Regions from separate parts of the Homo sapiens genome. Here all the other regions are linked to region 2. The links are contacts of gene promoters, found by promoter capture Hi-C in human tissues and cell types (Jung and others, 2019). All regions are on one chromosome and are shown on one strand. Each heading gives the region's core, a stretch centred on a gene start or on the middle of the fragment in contact. The rest is flanking DNA. Distances are from core to core; before and after follow the strand shown.

What was found. Contacts are between HindIII fragments. The study calls those that stand out against the background at their distance.
Region 1: a fragment that was not itself captured here is called in contact with the fragment with the promoter of IL1RAPL1 in region 2 in 1 of the 25 tissues and cell types used here (hippocampus).
Region 3: a fragment that was not itself captured here is called in contact with the fragment with the promoter of IL1RAPL1 in region 2 in 1 of the 25 tissues and cell types used here (hippocampus).

What each region holds. Positions count from the first base shown.
Region 1 is chrX:29,041,393-29,046,089 of GRCh38, forward strand. All of the region lies in intron 2 of IL1RAPL1 (interleukin 1 receptor accessory protein like 1), which reads left to right. Among named protein-coding and RNA genes, the nearest start is that of IL1RAPL1, 460 kb to the left of the region's middle. The HindIII fragment of the contact is 6,360 bases long and covers 1-4,697 here.
Region 2 is chrX:28,585,163-28,589,535 of GRCh38, forward strand. IL1RAPL1 (interleukin 1 receptor accessory protein like 1) reads left to right here and starts at 2,284. Exons shown (of 11, transcript NM_014271.4): 1 at 2,284-2,885. The HindIII fragment of the contact is 4,831 bases long and covers 265-4,373 here.
Region 3 is chrX:29,092,993-29,097,545 of GRCh38, forward strand. All of the region lies in intron 2 of IL1RAPL1 (interleukin 1 receptor accessory protein like 1), which reads left to right. Among named protein-coding and RNA genes, the nearest start is that of MIR4666B, 480 kb to the right of the region's middle. The HindIII fragment of the contact is 3,318 bases long and covers 1,209-4,526 here.

The sequences.
Region 1 (4,697 bases), core at 541-3,040, 460 kb after region 2:
CACTGATACAGCTTACAGACTTGAGAAAGATATCCTGCCTCTAAGGAGCTTATAGTCTAGTTTATCTCAATTTATACAATTTATACAAGCAACCGAGCAGAAAATTTTACAGTTAAACGATGATGTGTTGTTTTAAAGTACTTTCAAGATTCATTGTCAGTTTGTCTTCATTTGCATTTCTGGTAACAAAGACAGAAACAGTATAGACTAGGCAATAAGTAAGTGACAGTGTGCTGAAGGAGAAAATGATGACAAAGAAGATGGAGTTGAGATGATGGGAATTCTAATAACCCATATACCGTGTATTAGTTCTTTATTTCTTCTACAAACATTTACTGAACACCTACTTAGGTTCAGCCAAAAAGATGACAGTTTTATGATAACAGTATGTTTCCAGTACAGTATAATTGTTGTCACAATGAGCTGTTCACTAAAGCACGGACATTCTGTCATCTCATCTGTAAAAAGTAGATAATAATATCCTCCTTATCGAAAATCAATGAGCTGGAACAAGTGATTTCTAGTTTTCCTTCTATGCAGTAATAGCTAAGAGGGGGAGAAAGGAAATGAGAACAAATATGAGCCCGAGTTTACAATGTCTTCCTGGGACAGTATCAGAAATGAAACCTAATTTGTAGTGTCTCTGATAAAACATGAGCTTCATCTTCTCCTTCTTCCCCCAAAAGATATCAATTTTCATTTTACCAGTTTACCCCTACTAGCTGGAGCTCAGAACATAGGCCCACATGCCTATTTCTGCCATGAGCAGAACAACTATATTTAGATATTCCAGATTGTTCTTATTCCATAGAGGCCCAATGAATTTGGTAACTAAGACTGAATGGAACTTGGTATCTCATCAGTGCCTCTCAAAGATTTCCTTTCACTTGTTTCTTCAGGAAGACAACTACTAGTTGGACACATAAAAGTTTTAACTGTGGCTAGGCCCCACTCTTCTCTAGTTCCCATTGGAACTAGAAACTGTTGTAAGAATGACTCCAAGGAACATTAAAGACATTTTCAGATTGACTTTGAAGGCACATATAAGTGTGTTCAATGACTTTGTAATTTGGGGAAGACTCTTAAACTCCCTATTAGCAGATTATCATATATAACATATGAATAGACCTGTTTGAGGATGTAATGAGCTCATGCATATAAAATAACTAGTAAAGTGACCTGTACATTTTCAGCCCTCATTGTAAGCGTAATTATATTATATTATTCATCTTTTGTAGGAAAAGTTTTATTGAATTGGAGAACAACAGAAGACAAAAGCGTTCCTCCTTTCCCTTTCTAGATTTGTATATATTACAGAACACACATAAAAATGGACATTTCTCTGCAGATTATCTTACTGTTATGTATAAAAATAATAAATTGGCTCTCTGCCTATGGAGCAGACATTCTTTTGTTTCTTTACTTCTCTAATAAACTTGCTTTCACTTTACCATAGATAGCAATAGTAATAAGTCATGGAGAAAATTAATAACTACTTGGACTTTCTACGAAAATGTAGGGAAAGTGTATATAGATTTTTAATTGATGTTTTGATTCCAAACAAAAGAAAAAACTTCTTACAAATCATTTAATTTAAAGCTAAAAATTGCCTTAGATCACACATCTGTCCTGGTTGTACTAGGAAAATTGATATAAATATTCTCATGGCTGTCACACACCTGTTCTTCCTAAGGCAGTTCCATCTGAGGCATGATATTAAAAGGAATCAGAGGTGCTCACCAAGCAACATAACACCCTTGACTAAGACACCAACATTGTGATGATGTGTGAAATACTTACATTTCTCTATGGCTGCCATAGTACCTTATATTGGCTTCAGATCTTTTTATGTTTGTGATCTCTTTATCCATGAAATCTAGTTTATTTGCCCCCTTTTGAAAATCCATCCCCTATCCTCATTTTTAATTCATCCATTCTTCTTCCTATTCAGAGTAACCTACCTCTCTTACCAAGGGTGTGGCCAGATGTGATCTTTTTTTTTCAGGGCCTTAAATCCAGCAAATTATGTCTTGAAATAATGACACGTCATAAAGTCACTTAACTTTTTTTCCGAGTCCACCAGTTCTTTTTAACGTTTTTCACTGTCTAATAAAGGGTCTAAAGCCCTGACTGGAATCCATGCATGGAGGTGTCAAAGCTTACCACTGTTATAAAAATATTTCCCCCTACATGGCATGTCTTCATTTGGGCATGAATCATGAATTCATCCCATGCGTTCTCCTTTATTTCATGAACACCCAACTGTGTCAGAATGCCAATGACCTTCATTGGCTTGGCTAATCTATGGATCTGAACCCTCCTGTAATCCATTAAAAGAATAATAGCAAATTGAAAGTGAATGTAAAGATACCCAATGGGACCATAAAACTAACTATTCAATGTGACGTGCTTTGGCTTAATAGGGCTTTTATTTATTTAATTTCGAGCTCCCCTTGGTTTCTGACAGGGTTAGTGGAGGAAACAAACCCAGACATCTTGTAAGCTGTCAAGCTGATACTCATCTCAGGGGAGCTTAGAGGGTATCATGTTTTAAGTTTTATTTTTCTGGAGCTTGGAATATGTCTGCTGACAGACGGCTCCCCTGGGTTATAGCAATGCAAGGCTGTTGAGACAATTGAATAAGCTGAATTAGACAAAGGATTTTTATTACAATAACAACCAGATGGAACTTTGAAGGAAATTTTTTTTTAAGGTCTTAGAAGTTCTGTTACAGAAATCATTTAAAACATATTTATGGGCTGGGCGTGGTGGCTTATGCCTGTAATCCTAGCACTTTGGGAGGCCAAGGCAGGTGGATCACTTGAGGTCAGGAGTTCAAAACCAGCCTGGCCAACACGGTGAAACCCACCTCTACTAAAAATACAAAATTAGCCGAGTATGGTTGCAGGTGCCTATAATTCCAGATACTCAGGAGGCTCAGGCAGGAGAATCACTTGAACCTGGGAGGTGGTGGTTACAGTGAGCCAAGATCGCGCCACTACACTCCAGCCTAGGCAACAGAGTGAGACTCCGTCTCTAAACAAATAAATAAATAAATAAATAAAAAGATATTTATGATGATTTTTCCTATTATAAGGTTAAAAAAAACAACATAAAGATCTCATTGCTCTGTTTTTTTTAATCCCTAATGATTAATATGTGGCCAGTTACAGAGACTCTTCCAGCCAACCCGTGACATATACACATTAATAATGTTCTTTTGTATTTGCAGATCTTATTTCTTCAGAGTAATGGAAAATCCTGCCCAGTACTGTTCTATTAATCTTCATAACGAATGCTAGGGGGCTAGGTGGGCGGCATTTGGTGTTATCCACATGTAATAGATTTTTTAAAAATGGGGCAATGAAAACAAAATAAGTCTTGAAACTTGTTAACACCCACAGTGGAAGTTTAGCAGTGGAAATGAACTAATATTACCAGAAGACCTCTTATTCTCTATTGCTTTTCATGATTAGCTAGTACATTTATTATTTTTCTCATGAATGACAAGATTGCCTGTAATGTATTTGACATGTGGTAGTTTTCCAATCTCCGGCAGGCTGTGTGCATGGGTGTGTGTGTATGTGATTAATAAATACTTAAATATTTTTTATATAGGGATTGTTTTGCCCTCTAGAGGCAGCTCAATAGAAGGAGCATTCAATGTTAGTGATTGAAAAATGGTAGATGAAACTTGGACAGGAAAACTCGAGAGGTCCAAGGTACCTTATTTAGCTACTGCTGTCACGGTGGATCATAATGCAGTGGGACAGTCAGGACTCAAAGCCTTTCCTATAACCACATACGATGGATATTGAGCACAATACAGAAGCAAAAGATTTGTTTTAACTTGGATACTTCAACTGCAAGCGTCTCTGGGCCTGATATCCAGTTCAGAATTCACTGTACTTTTTATTTCACTATCGGCTTTCCAAAATATGGTAACTAAATGAGTAAATGAAAACATGGCAATACAAACCAACACAAGTTCTTTTGCTGACAGAGCATGCAATTGCCAAGTAAAAATATTGTTCTTTATTAGGTTTCTTTTCATCGTACATGTACATATTCATTTGGAAACACATTTTTTTGAGACATAATCTTGCTCTGTCACCCAGGCTGGAGTGCAGTGGTACAATCATAGCTCACTGTAGCCTCAATTTCCTAGGCTCGAGGGATCCTCCTGCCTCAGCCTTTCAAGTAACTAGAACTACAGGCATGGGCACTTGCCGGGCTAATTTTTTAAAATTATTTTTTGTAAAGACTGGGTCACCTCAGCCTTCCAAAGAGCTGGGAAGAGCTGGGCATATAGGCAGGCATGAGCCACCATGCCCAGTCTACAAACACATTTTAAAACCATAGGCCTTCTAGTTTTTTGTTGTTGTTGTTTAGGTTGGCTTTTGACATGCTACTTATTGCATACTAGTCTGTCATGTTCCTAAATTCCAGTTACTCCTGTAGCCATTTTTAAAGATTATTTTTTAAATTTTTCTTCCTCCTCCTCCACCTCCTCCTCCTCCTCCTTCTTCCTCCTCCTCCTCCTCCTTCTTCCTCCTCCTCCTCCTCCTCCTCCTTCTTCTCCTCCTTCTTCCTCCTCCTCCTCCTTCTTCTTCTTGCTTCTTTTTCTTCTTCCTCTTCTTCTCCTCCTCCTCCTCCTCCTCCTTCTTTTTCTTCAGGCATGGCCTTGCTCTGCCACT
Region 2 (4,373 bases), core at 1,034-3,533:
AGACAAGGAAACTGAGGCCAAGAGAAATTAAAGTGATTCCCTTGGGTAATTATGGCTACTTAGGAGTAGAATTTAGACTCAAATCTAGGATTGGAGCCTACGGTCAAGACGTTTACTTTTAAATTTTGCTTGAAGCAATTACATTTACACTTGTTACTTGTGCCCCCCTCCAGGTCTGCTTGAGGTCTATTCACATTCAACTGGGTCAACTAGAGGACTGTGATGGAAGGTATAGAAAATCTAGATCACTCACGTTGAAAGGAGGGGAATATATTTCCTCTTCACTTCTAATCTTCAGTTTAGGCTGAATTATAGCATGTGGGGAAGAAGCAGAGGGAAGAAAAACACTGGCACAGAAGATGTGAACATGGGTGAGTTAGCTTCAAAGAAACCTTGTAAGACTTGCCTACCGACTTTAACCACATTTTCCCTCTGCTTAGGTTGGAAATTTCAGTGTACTGCTCCTTTTTTCGAAATACAGTTTTACCTCCCTGTCTAGTCTCCCTGCCTGCTGTTATTCTCACCTGCGCGCTTAGTTTGTATTCGTTTAGCTCACATTTTACCTAATTTTTAAAGTGTTTTCTTTATCTTGATGCGTGTTTTACTCCCCAAATTAAAACAGTTCTGAAGGGCCAAGGCTACTTTACCTATTTATTCTATTTTTGGTTTATCCGGTTAAGCCTGCCATTACAAAAGCTTGTGGGATACATTACAAAATGGGTTAAGGTTTTTAAGTACATGGGCTGCCGGTGTTGAATGGGAAAGGTTGCAGGGTGGGGAGAGGGAGAGAAGTAACTAGAAAAGCGGCTCGCTGCCTTTTAATCATCCAGCCTACTCAGCTGCCGGAAACTGACACTGTTGCTGCAGTGTAAACATTAACATTTTTTAAGGGTCTTGCTACTCCAAATGTGGTCCACAGCCCAGCAACATTATTATGGGCCACGGGCGAGCTTATTAGAAACGCAGGGTCTCAGGCCTCACTCCAGATGTACCGAATCCGAATCTGCATTTTAACAAGACACCCAGGTGACGGTGTGTACATCAAAGTTTGAGAATCACGGAATCACATGTGAGTGTTATACTATCCCAATGTAAATGGTCAAGGACCTTAAATTGAGCAAATAACCTAATGTATTTACCCGTACCTACTTTGACCCTCTTTCTTCATCACAAATTCATCTCAGAAACCAGCAGCGAACTCTTTTGCAGGGAACTCAATTACGCGGTGGATGGGAGGAGGATCCTCTTCAATACCCTCCCCTCCGCTCCTCCTCCCACTCCCCACCCCCACCCCGCACTCCCAGAGAGCCTTCCACAGGCACCCTTCTCCCAAGCCCCACTCACTTAGGGAAGATTTTGCTCCTCCCCCAAACTGAAAGCGCGGCTGTGAGGAGGGTTACTGCTTGAAGGACTCACAGTTTGCATATCAATACAGACAGAGGCACTTTTGCAAAACTGCCCTTTAGAAACAATTATCATCTTAGCACCTGAGGTTTGTTTGGAGCAGCCCCCGCACCCCTTCTCTCTTGTAATCCATCTTAAAGTGATACGGAGAATGGGGGCGTTGGGGAGACAGTGATGGGGGTGGGAGGGTCGCGCGCAATAATAAATCTGCTTCAAAGAGAAGAGATGAAAAGGAGGTTATCAAGAGTGTGTCGGCTTAGGCATCACTCTCTGTATCTTTCTGCTTCCTAGAGAAATGGAACCATAATTCTAAGGTGGCTAAGGCAAGACTGTATAAGCATCCAAATTTGCCAGTCTGCTTTTGCCTGGAAGAACAGATTTCCGTTATTTGAAGCCTCCCAGGGTCCTTTCCAAAAGATTCCCAGGCTACCTTCCTTCCACTTCGGTCTTCTGAGAACTCAAACTCGCAAAGCGGTGGCTGTCTGTGGATTGGCTAGTACTAAAATATCCATTGGGTGGCAGTAATACTATCCTCTTTATGACTTGCAGCAAACCAGAGAATGCATTCAATCAAATGAACCGATCTTGTAGAAACACTGGAATCATTTATGCGTTGCAGTTTCTCTTTCTTGTTTTCGCTCCTTCTTCCCTGGGATATTTTGAGTGGATTGTGGCTATTAATCAAGATCTCGTGCTATTCGTGTTTTGCTTGTGGTTTTCGCTCAGGATTAGCATCATTCAAGGCAAACGCAAAGCTGCTTTTCCCACCCCCCCCCCCGACTCTTTTTTGAAAAATCATTTTTGGGGGCTGCTGAGGAGAGCTAGGACCCAGGAGACACCTTCCCAAACAGCAGGGGTTGTGTGCTTTCACATAGCAGTACTGTACAAGGAAAACCCCGTCGGATCTGTTATTGCGGGATACTTGTGAAATATACATAGGATTCTTTCTTATGGCTGCATCCCGGATCTGGAAATTTTACTTGGGGACCAGGAGGATTTGAAAGGCTGCATGTACTCAGAAGATTTGCAAGCAACACTCCAATTCTTGTCATAGAGCTCGCAGACTTCTCACTTATCGGCTTTTTTCCTTCCTTATTTTTTAAGAATTATTCTTATTTTCCCCTCTCTTTTTCTGCTCTCTCCTCTCTCAGTCTCTCCTTTTCTATCTGCCTCTTCATTTTTCTCCTAGTCTGTTTTTTTTTTTCCTGCTCTGCACCTGGATTGTATCTTCAGCAAACAATCGGGCACTTTGAGAACTAACTGGAGACAGTCTTGTAGGGAAGATCTGTATGGAATTATCTGCTTTTATGGTGAACTTGGCATTTGTGAATGGGAATCTTGTTCACAATATTAATTGCTAGCAAAAACAAGAAAAAGAACACAGGAGTAAAACGTGGATTTTTCTGAATACGCATTGTGATGACCAGCAATTACCTTACCGACTAATATCCAGAGGAGAATAATTTGGAAGACTGTTGTGGGTAAGGTCATTTTATATATGCAAACCCATCAGTGGCATGAGCAAACTTGGGCATTTGTAATGGGAATGGGTGACTTGAATGATTGCTGCATCGCATTGATGGCTGTGATGTGGCCGTTATTGGCACTGAATGGAATAACTGCAGTTGGGTGTGTTGATATGTGTGTGTGTGTGTGTGTGTGTGTGTGTGTGTGTGTGTGTATGTGTGTGTGCGTGTGTGTGTATATGTATGTGTGCCCGTATTCTGAGTGCAATTGAAAATCAAAGTATCACTCTCTCCCCCAATTATTTTGATATGGAAGAGTGTCTTGAATTAATTCTGGGTAGACACTCTTTGTTTGAATGTAATATTTGTGGCCCCTGCGTTCTGGAAGGGGTAGCAGCAGTAAAAGAAACACTTAGTGAAGAGCCCCATTTAAAATGAAACGAGCTACTCTCTATGCATTAAAAGAAATATGTTTTCAACTCAGTGCAGCATTCTGCTGCATTTCACAGCCGCAATGGGACCAGGGACATCCCACTTGTCAAGTTCTTAAACTTTAAGGTGATAATCATCGTTAATTGTTCTCTAGGTTGTGGTTACTGGAGATTATTAAGCGCCCTGGGCTACTTTTTTATCTACTGGATTATCACTCAGAGTGAAAAAAGGAAAAGAAAAGAAAAAGCTAAAAATGATGGCTAACATAGAGAAGAATAAGGCAACATTATCTTAAATATCACCACAGTGCTTTCTTTCTCAAGTTCAATTGCCCAATAATATAATTATTTACCCAATATCCTAAATAGCTGAAGCTGAGACCCACGTGCAGGGGAGTCGAAGGTCTGAAAGCAGAGACCGTCCTTTTATTGCAATGCAGCCAGCTTGGGAAATGCAGGCAATTAATTACATACTTCCCCTAACCTTAAGTTGAAGATGTGTCCTGTCTGCTACATCTATTTTACCCTTTCGGTAAAAAGTTAGAGACTAGAACACTAAGGATGTTTAAGCATATTCTGCCTGGGAAATGGGATAAAGAAATCAATATTGATGACGTGGTTCAGTGCACTGTACTGCAATGCTAAAGTTCCATATTCAGTGCCTGTGATGAGAGAGTGGAGCATTTACATATGTTATAAATCTCACCTGGTAGATTGATCCAAAGGGGAGGGGAGAAGATATGTGGATATGTAGGAAGATGGATGGAAGTCGTGCATAATCGGTGATTATGTAACTTCATTACATCAGCGAGTTTCAGTCAACGATAGTGAGATGAGATGATTGTATAGAGAGAGGCTCCATCACCCTGTTAACTTTTGAAGGCTTGTAACAGCTAACAGAGGAGGAGGGCAGAGAGAGATTAGCTCCAAGGGTCCTGTAAACCTTGATCTCTATGGCAAATTTTGCATGAGTTTTCTCATAGTGAGTTTCGGAGGGACATCAGATCATATAAGCTTTAGGGCTGGACAGGACCAATTTTAGCCACACCCGTGGAGAGTCAAAATGAGTCTG
Region 3 (4,553 bases), core at 1,618-4,117, 510 kb after region 2:
AATCTATATTAACCAGTCATTACTGCCATGTTGCTTGGAAACTGCAAAGATGTTATATCAAGTTACTTAGCCATCTTTTCATAAATTTTCATTAAAATATGACTGCCAAACAAGATCAATCAGGTGACCTTGATATATTAGGCTTTTCTCATATTGCTATAAAGAAATACCTGAGACTGGGCAATTTATAAAGAAAAATGGTTCAATTGGCTCACAATTCCACAGGCTGTACAGGAAGCATAAGGCTGGCATCTGCTTGGCTTCTGGGGAAGCCTCAGGAAACTTACAATCATGGTGGAAGGTAAAGGGGTAGCAGGCAGTTCACATGGCCAGAGCAGGAGGAGGGGGGTGGGAGATACCAGTTACTTTTAAATGACCAGAATCTCAAGAGAGCTCACTCACCATCACTAGAACAGCATCAAAGGGGAAATCTGCCTCCATGATCCAGTCACCTCCCACCAGGCATTGGAGATTATAATTCGACATGAGATTTGGTGGGGACATAGATCCAAACCGTATCACTTTGTTATTGGTAGTTGTTTGTGGGTTGAAAGCATGAATGATAGAAAGACATGTTCTCAGGATGCAGGCTGGGATAAAGTAGAAGAACACGTTCTATAAAGGAACACTTATTATGTGTTAGGTACTATGCTAAATATGTTACATTAATTATCATCTCATTTAATCCTCACTACAACCTTCCTAGGTAGGCATTATTTCTACTCCTACTTTGCAGCTAGGGAACTGAGATCAGACAAGGTGAAGTGATTTGATTAGTCTCTTAAGTTAAACTTACTGCCTTGGTGAGCAATGGTAAGGTATTAGATGCTACAGGTCTGCTGCATACCCAAAATCCTGAACTTTGGCTCCAGGCCTGGTCTGTGGGTCCCAAGAAACCAAAGTGTAGGCGAGCCTAGCCCTGAGGGATCATTCCCAGGTTTCTCCTCAACCCTTCTTGCCCAGCCTTTCCCTGGAAACCCAATAGCAGAGAGCATAATCAAGAATGTATAAATGTGATTATAAGGAGCCAGAGCAAGAAATATTTCTTTTTTCTTCCTTACTGTCTACCTCACCTGGTTTAATATTCCCTACCACCTCATTCTCACAGTCTATGCACCTATACTTTAGTCTGGGTACCCCTAAAAAATTATTTCTTGTACCATGAGTGTGCATGCCCCCCTTTGGGATCACTGACGATTAAAACCAGTTCCAAATTTACAAGCCTCTTGGGATATGTTTGACTCCCATATAAATGTAGCTATTTTATATATTTTTGTGTATATATGCCCATTTTAATATATGATGAAAATGAGTTCTCTAAAAATGTTAAAATATGTAATGCATTTCTGAAATTTACAATGAGTGCCTTTCAATTCACTATGGCATTGTTATAAGGCGGATTTTTAGTTGTATCGTAGTTGATAACATATTGGTTTTCTTTTAAATTTCTAGATTTTTTGTTTTACTTAAAGAAACATCTATTGGCTGGGCATGGTGGCTCACGCCTGTAATCCCTGCACTTTGGGAGGCTGAGGTGGGTGGATCAACTGAGGTCAGGAGTTTGAGACCAGCCTGGCCAACATGATGAAACTCTATCTCTACTTAAAAAAAAAAAAAAAAAAAATCAGCCGGGCAGGGCATGGTGGCAGGTACCTGTAATCATAGCTACTCGGGAGGCTGAGGCAGGGGAATGGCTTGAACCCAGGAGGCGGAGGTTGCAGTGAGCTGAGATTGCACCACTGCACTCCAGCCTTGGTGACAAGAGTGAAACTCCATCTCAAAAAAAAAAAAAAAAAAAAAAAAAAAAAAGAAACATCTATTTAATAGAAAACACACCTAAAAACTAAAAAAAAAAAAAAAAAGAAAACAACTACTGATCTCACTGCCTGGTATTAACTACTTTTAAGATTTTTGTGTATATCTTTCTCCATTTACATTGATTTTTAATTTCAGTTAAGTGAGAATTCCATCTCTTTTTTATAGCTTTCACTTTAGGAGTAATTTACTTTAGTTGAGAATTTCACATTCATGTATCTTAAAGTCCTTTCTCTTTTTGGATTATATTATTATTTTATTTTTAGTATAGACAAAGTATTCTTGCTTCCCCAACAAGATATGGAAATTCATATATTTTGACAAAATATGATGCTATTTTCCATGTAAAGGACAGATATGTTTTCTTTGATTTCTTTTTCTCATAGACTTGTTTATCATTTCTCTTGCTCTAAATTTTAGAAAGGTGTTGTTTTTGCCTTCCTGTTAGGCTTCACCTGAACAGTTATAGTGATGGTGTGGAAGGCAATTCTTACTATATTAGTCATTTGATGGTAGTCTGCAACTTCAGGGGCTCTGTCTTAATAGTTTTACATTGCTATAATTCAGTGGCTTTGAGGTCTAGCTTAATACCCAAATTACTAATATATTTAGGATTGTTGAAACTGCAAATGTTCAAGCTTTACCTCAAACAGTCCACAAGATATTCCCTAGGCTTCAGGGTTTGAGAATCCTCTAAATGAACAAAGCCCATTAATCCATGCTGTATCATAGTGACTGACACATGGTAAACTCAATAAATTTATCTATTTTAAGTTAATAGAATTCTGGCAAGATTATCTGTTCATTGCATGTATAACATGGTGACCTTAATCTTTTGGGTAGAAATAAATCAGCTATCACTTATGATTTTCTCAAGGAATAATGGTACCTTTTCAAAAGGATAGGTTTTATATACTATGAGATGTCCTGATATAATTTGAATTCATGGCAATACTGCATTTGCCTTTTTTTTTTTTTTTACCATCTTTCAAGAGGGCTGCCTAGAGATAAGAATTTAAGGGCCATGTGTTGTATTTTTGCTAGTACCTTGAAAGAAGTTTTTGCTTTGTTTTTAATGGCAATACAAATAAAATCCAAAAATCCTGGACACATATGATAAGTTCAGTTGTTTATTTGAAAAGTAAATGCCTCACATGCCTTGCTCATACCACTTTAAAATGGGATTGATTGATAAACACAAACTCTAACTCTCTTACATTAAAGAGTATCAACACTCTGAATTTTTAATTATCTTTGATAATCCCCATGAACATTTTTAGGACTCACACGTAAAATAGTCAAGTCTATTTCAAGTTATGTCAGACAATGCTTTTTAATATACTGTTCAGTGCAGCACCCTACCAAAAACTAGTCCTGTGGTTGCTTTATCTAATTGTGCCTTGGTAAGGGATTTGTTAAGAGTGGGGAAAAAATACCCCCAGAAATGCTTTAATTAAACAGCTTCAAATACAGCCATTGTTCTTACAACAGAATTGTGTAAGTCTTCTCCCTGAAGAGAAATATTGCTGTAGCCAATATAGCTATACAATTAGTCTATGTATATTAATGTAAATATAATTTCATTATAAAAATGCTTACTCGTACAGAATCTAATTTTTATCTGATTATTTTTTCAAACACTGGCCAGTCCCATGAGTGAAAATACCTATAATGTAAGGTCAGTTGCCAATTATAAAAAACATTGTTTAGATGGAAACCCAGGGTATTCACCCAATGTGGTTATTACTTGTGCTTACATAATGAAATTTGATCAGCTTGTTTTAAAATAATCTATTTAGGTCCTAGTATTCACAATATCTCTTCCCAGAAATAAAGACTTCCTTGAAGAAAGTAAATGATTTGAACTGGAAAAACATGTAAGAAATTTAAAAAAATTAAATATATATTTATTTTAATATATGTATGAAGAAAGTTTTTCAAGATGTTATGATGAAATTGATTTTCTTTGAGGTCCAAAATGGCCTTTACATGAGGTATAGGACTAAGATTTTAGTAAAAAGCACGTACCTTGGTCATCACAGAATTGTTGGGAATCATTCAGAGACCATGTAGAAATGTTTCCCAGGGTGAGAAAGACTGAACCCTAGACTAATATTGGCTCTGCCAAAAATAAAATAAAATAATTTTTTAAAAATTAAAGAACTTATGGAGGGCACACCCTTTCATTCTGTGATTTCCACGTCAAGAGGTCTCAGTGGAGCATACATCTGAAACAAATCATTTAAGCTATAAATTTAGTCACTAAGATCATCTTTAGATCCAACATTGATATGTTAATTTATGAAATCAAAAAGTAATATACTTTATAGCTTCCTCCTAAATCTTAGAAGGTACTGGAACACCCATACTTTGACCATTCTTTTACGTTCACTAAATTTCCTAAGAGTGTCATGGAAACAGAAGAGGAATAGAAAATCTATCAGGTAACCCTGCCCTACCTGGCAAATTTTTGTGTTGTAGTTGCTTTTGTTTAACATTTCTTTTATCAGTTAATTATACGCTGATAGAGATTTTAGATGGACTCTTGGAACTCCAAGAAAAAAGAGGTTCTGATTCAGATGCTCTTGGAAATATAGACACATTTGAGTGTCTTAAAAGCATACACGAGACAAGGTCTATTTTCCAAAGGTGCAGAGCAAGTACTGAAGCTTCTCCACTTGAAAACAACAGTATAAAAACTACCATTAAGGCCATTTGTTCATTTGCCCAAAGTATCC